2 separate regions of the Homo sapiens genome follow, and region 1 is linked to region 2. Evidence: promoter capture Hi-C in 16 types of primary human blood cells and fetal thymus (Javierre and others, 2016). All regions are on one chromosome and are shown on one strand. The core of a region is centred on a gene start or on the middle of the fragment in contact, and the rest is flanking DNA. Distances in the headings are between cores, read along the strand shown.

Region 1 (2,818 bases), core at 215-2,714, 140 kb before region 2:
CTTTAAAAACTAACCATATCAAGATGAGCATTATACATTATACAGATACACTTATAGTAGACTTTATTTAGTGAATCCAAATGACATGTGATAATTGTTTGGAAAGGCCTATTGATTTTATATCTGATCATTCAATCCAGAGACATTAAATTCAGTTGATTAATGGAGTTCCCCAACTGTAAGACTTCTTTACGAGATTATTTTCAAGCTTTGAAAAGATCTTCTGAGATAAAGGGGATCAGCAAACAGTAAGAGTGTGTTGCTATACCCAAGCAAAAGAAATAAATCTTAATCTCTCAGCAAATCATTCAAAATGTCAGAAATGTTAGTGTTTCTATATCTTGGTAAAATGGATTGATTGAGAAGTATGAAAAGTATAACAGTGGCATGCAGAATATTGTTTTTATGAATATTCAGAATTTCAGTTGTTTACATAATTATGTATCTTTATAGTAAACGTAACCACATTTACTTGTGCTGTGCTTTAGAGAACAGCTGATGTTCCCTTTCCACTTTGTTGACCGGCTGGGAAAGCACGACGTGACCTGCACAGTCTCAGGGGGCGGGAGGTCAGCGCAGGCTGGAGCAATACGACTGGCAATGGCAAAAGCCTTGTGCAGCTTTGTCACCGAGGACGAGGTCGAGTGGATGAGACAAGGTATGAGTCTAGGTGGGACGGGCATGGTGGCCCAATACTGGCTATACATGTTCATCTGCTTCTTGTCCTAGTGCCTGAAGTTCGTAAGAAAATATATAGTTACATATGTAATATTTCACTTCGCTGTCTTCTTTCTTGCTACAGAACCATAACAGTATTTCTCAGATTTGATTTCTACAAGGTGAGCTTGAATTAGAAAAAGGGGAGAACTCCCCACACTGATTATTTGAGCCCTGCTAAAATGTTCAGTTCCAAGGTCAGGGAAAAGTTAATTTTGGCCTTAATGCATAACCTTTTATCCAGCTTAACAAAGTGCTTAGCTTAGTTATATTTAAGAGACAAATTGCTTGTTTTTGTTTTATCATAGAAATGTGTGGGTTTTTTGTTTTTGTTTTTTAAACAGTCTCTCTCTGTCAGCCAGGCTGGAGTGCAGTGGTATTATCATAGCTAGCTGCAGCCTTAAACTTCTGGGCTCGAGCAATCCTCCTGCCTCGGCCTCCCAGGTAGTTAGGACTATGACATACACTCCCAAACCTGGATAATTTTTGTATATTTTGTAGAGACTGCATTTTGCTATGTTGCCCAGGCTGTTCTCGAACTCCTGGCCTCAAACAATCCTGCCTTGGCCTCCCAAAGCACTGACATTACGTAGCATGAGCTACCACACCTGGCCTGTCATAGAAATTTGTAATAATTATTTGGTTAGTGATAAAGTTCTTTGGGTATTTTGTTTTTGTAAGTTATTGGAGGTTTCCATTTTTTCCCATTGTGGTGTTTGAATTTTCTTTTACCCTACTCTGTGTAACCCTGTTACCTGGGCATGAATACAAGAGTCCCTGTGTAATGTGAAAAAGGATGGGCAGTTGATTCTTACCTTAGACTACTGCTTTAGAAGTTGGAATAAATTGGGGAAGTTTGAGCTGAAGACCATCTTCGCACTGTTGATGAGAAGAGGAAAGCACCATGTGTGCTATTGGCGGCTGCATGGTCGTGGGCAAGTCACTTAGCACCTAAGTCTATAAGCTCCTCCTCTGGGCAAGTAGGTTGGTCTCTGTGCACCAGACCTTCTAGTACAAGCCGCTGAGGTTCAATAAAAACACTACCTATGGCTTAGGCTACTTAATTGCTTAAGGCTCTTAAAAATCCATTTGCTTATAAGCAATTTGTCATCATATGGGATTCATATCTAGTCATTGAAGTAATTTGCTAGAATCTTAACAATTTGATGAGTTTGAGCTACTGTGCATATCTGAAAGTAATAAAGCATTCTTACTTACAGTTGAAGCTAGAACTTAGGTCTTTTCTGTATTTTGTCAAATACTGCTGTTTTATTCCATGCATGTCCTTTAAGTACAAGCAAGTGTAAATGTTATGGGTATATCATAAACAAGGTTTTCCTTTGCTCTATGTACATTAAATGGTCCTTAATAAAATACCCAAGCCTTGTATACAGTAGGAGGAGTGCTAACGTTGGAAGAGTGAAAAAGACAAGGAAAAAGTATGGTCCATTTACATATTTATAAAAGCAATGTAAGAGCTTTCCCATCAGTGGTATTCTTGGAATCTATGGTCTTTACTAACTTACTATAGCTCCAGCCACTGCTGGGGCTCTTCCTTATGGGCCATAGCTAAGAGTAACCCCAGCAGTTGCCTAGAAACATAATCACTCCTGATGATTGGGAGAATGAAAGTTTCCCGTTTAAACTGACTTTATTCTTCTAGAAGAAACTGCCTGTGCTGAGAATACAACTCTAAAACTTATTTTTTAGATTCTAAAACAAAAAAACAGGGAATATTATTATGGCATAAATTAAAATAATGAAAGTTTCCTTTTTTAAATGTTTGACAAGTCATATTTGTGTGTATATGCATATTCATGTAAACTGTTAATAGATGGTATCTAAGTACTTTCTCATACTTCACCTTTACAGTAAGTTTTTCTTCTCTGCCTCTTGTCTCCATTAAAACTCTGTCCTCTGCAATAGTAAGTGTGCAGGTTAAGTTCCCTTACAGTGAATAGTGACCGCCCACACAAGAGGAGCTTTATCTCACTTAGGTTGAGCAAGCTTAAAAACCAAAAGGGAGCCATGATTCTTATAATTTAAGGGAAGCAGGTTTAAATAATGTAACTTGTGTTTGTCTCAGAGGTTGGAAAAATAT
Region 2 (2,905 bases), core at 285-2,784:
CAGGGTGGATAAATGGCGCAGGCTGGATTTCCCCCAGCCCAGGCGATGTGACTTCAGACCTGAGCTACTGAACACACTCTTGCCACATCAGTGAGACAAAATTAAAATTATATTTATCTTTTTGAAAGTGAAAGCAAGTTTATCAAGAATGTAAGGAATAAAAGCTCATTTCATTTACTTTTTTTTTAAGAGACAGGGTCTCACTCTGTTACCCAGGCTGGAGTACAGTGACACCTTCTTAGCTCACGACAGCCTCGAACTTCTGTGCTTGAGCAATCCTCCTGCCTCGGCCTCCTGAGTAGCAGGGACTATAGATGGAAGCCTGGCTCATTTTTTTGTGTGTGTAGAGATGGGATCTCTCTATGTTGCCCAGGCAGGTCTTGAACTCCTGGCCTCAAGCAATCCTCCTGTCTCTGCCTCTCAAAGTGCTGGGATTATAGGCATGAGCCACTGCACCCAGCTAACATTGTATTTTAAAAGGCCTTACCTTTGGGGAAAGTTCCCTTCTCCCAGTCTGTGCTTCCAGAAGTAATAGTATAGCAGCCCCACAGTTATCCAAGATGTTACCATTAGGGAAAACTGGGTGAAGGACACACAGAATTTCACCATAGTATTTATTATTATAACTCCATGTGAATTTACACTTATCCATGTGAATTTACACTTATCAAATAAAGTTAAACAAACAGACTTACAATTTCTTTTAAAAAATTAAAACTTAAAAATGTATACTTAAAATTTGCTAAGAGGGCAGATCTTAGGTGAAGTATTCTTACCACCAAAACAAAATGATAATACTAGAAAAATGGCAGGAGAGAGCTTTGGCAGGGGGAGTGGGATATGTTTTTGGCCTTGGTGGTGATGGGTTTCTGGTATATTGAGATGTAAATTTGTACAGCTTTTGACATGTCAGTCATTCCTCGATGAAGTGGGGTTTTTTAAAGCTAAACAAATATTATAGCAGCAGCATCAACTATCACTTATTCATCTACTCAACAAGCATCCAAGTGTCCTCAACAAGGACACTTACTGCATGCCAGCCACTGTTGTCAGTACTGGGAGATAGCAGAGAATGAAACAAGCAAAACCTTTCTCTTGTGGAGCAGGATTCTAACGTTAGTTGGCTAGACCAAGGCTTCATTCCGACAGGTTGCTGAAAACTCAAGTTATTACATAAACACTAACTACAAAGTGTACTTCCTCAGTTTCCTCAGAAGATAGCTGATTAGGTTTTTCTGGGCTGCTTGACAAGACTCAGACAGTATTTGTGAATATCAAGCTTTGTCCCACGTGGTAAATAAACTTGTTTAGAAACACCTGTAAAGCTTAAACGCGTGCTTTCTTCAACGCGTTTGGAAACTCTAACCCCCTTCTCTTTTGTACTTTTGCTTGCTGTCCACTACAGAGGGTCCAAGCACGAAGCTGTGCACAGAGTCGCTCTCCACAGAGATGCTTAGGATGTGATCCATGAATCGCAAATCCCAGCTAGTGCTCACAAAGACGGACATTTCTCCCCAAGACCATTCCAGTGCCCCAGAGGTCCACAGACATCCAGGAAGATGCAGCCAGCAGACAAAGAATGGCAGCCACCCAAGTGCTGAGGGGAGCCCTCCCGGCCATTTCTGTCCCAGCTCCAAGGGTCTCTCCACGATGGCCTGCAACAGCACGTCCCTTGAGGCTTACACATACCTGCTGCTGAACACCAGCAACGCCTCAGACTCGGGGTCCACCCAGTTGCCCGCACCCCTCAGGATCTCCTTGGCCATAGTGATGCTGCTGATGACCGTGGTGGGGTTCCTGGGCAACACTGTGGTCTGCATCATCGTGTACCAGAGGCCGGCTATGCGCTCGGCCATCAACCTGCTGCTGGCCACCCTGGCCTTCTCCGACATCATGCTGTCCCTCTGCTGCATGCCCTTCACCGCCGTCACCCTCATCACCGTGCGCTGGCACTTTGGGGACCACTTCTGCCGCCTCTCAGCCACGCTCTACTGGTTTTTTGTCCTGGAGGGCGTGGCCATCCTGCTCATCATCAGCGTGGACCGCTTCCTCATCATCGTCCAGCGCCAGGACAAGCTGAACCCGCGCAGGGCCAAGGTGATCATCGCGGTCTCCTGGGTGCTGTCCTTCTGCATCGCGGGGCCCTCGCTCACGGGCTGGACGCTGGTGGAGGTGCCGGCGCGGGCCCCACAGTGCGTGCTGGGCTACACGGAGCTCCCCGCTGACCGCGCCTACGTGGTCACCTTGGTGGTGGCCGTGTTCTTCGCGCCCTTTGGCGTCATGCTGTGCGCCTACATGTGCATCCTCAACACGGTCCGCAAGAACGCCGTGCGCGTGCACAACCAGTCGGACAGCCTGGACCTGCGGCAGCTCACCAGGGCGGGCCTGCGGCGCCTGCAGCGGCAGCAACAGGTCAGCGTGGACTTGAGCTTCAAGACCAAGGCCTTCACCACCATCCTGATCCTCTTCGTGGGCTTCTCCCTCTGCTGGCTGCCCCACTCCGTCTACAGCCTCCTGTCTGTGTTTAGCCAGCGCTTTTACTGCGGTTCCTCCTTCTACGCCACCAGCACCTGCGTCCTGTGGCTCAGTTACCTCAAGTCCGTCTTCAACCCCATCGTCTACTGCTGGAGAATCAAAAAATTCCGCGAGGCCTGCATAGAGTTGCTGCCCCAGACCTTCCAAATCCTCCCCAAAGTGCCTGAGCGGATCCGAAGGAGAATCCAGCCAAGCACAGTCTACGTGTGCAATGAAAACCAGTCTGCGGTTTAGGGGGTCAGGGGGCCACAGAGAAGGGGCAGCTGAGCCCCAGTCCCAGGGTGGATCTGTCCTGCTCTGTTCCCTGGCATGTTGGTCATAGTCTGCACTTTGTGGTGGCAATTTAAGCACAAAGGTACTCATTTGTAAT

What was found. The method cuts DNA at HindIII sites, captures the fragments that hold promoters and counts their contacts. A CHiCAGO score of 5 or more calls a contact.
Region 1: a contact is called between a fragment that was not itself captured here and the fragment with the promoter of GPR45 in region 2, in 8 of 17 cell types (total B cells, megakaryocytes, naive B cells and 5 more). The highest score is 8.3, in total B cells.

Annotation. Positions count from the first base shown.
Region 1 is chr2:105,096,667-105,099,484 of GRCh38, forward strand. It overlaps MRPS9 (mitochondrial ribosomal protein S9), which reads left to right. Exons shown (of 11, transcript NM_182640.3): 10 at 489-658. MRPS9-AS1 (MRPS9 antisense RNA 1) reads right to left here. Exons shown (of 4, transcript NR_110227.1): 2 at 2,582-2,634; 3 at 1,533-1,596; 4 at 386-732. Among named protein-coding and RNA genes, the nearest start is that of MRPS9-AS1, 4.9 kb to the right of the region's middle. The HindIII fragment of the contact is 2,516 bases long and covers 207-2,722 here.
Region 2 is chr2:105,240,209-105,243,113 of GRCh38, forward strand. It overlaps GPR45 (G protein-coupled receptor 45), which reads left to right and starts at 1,535. Exons shown (of 1, transcript NM_007227.3): 1 at 1,535-2,905. The coding sequence starts at 1,651. The coding sequence ends at 2,769. The HindIII fragment of the contact is 10,787 bases long and covers 1,324-2,905 here.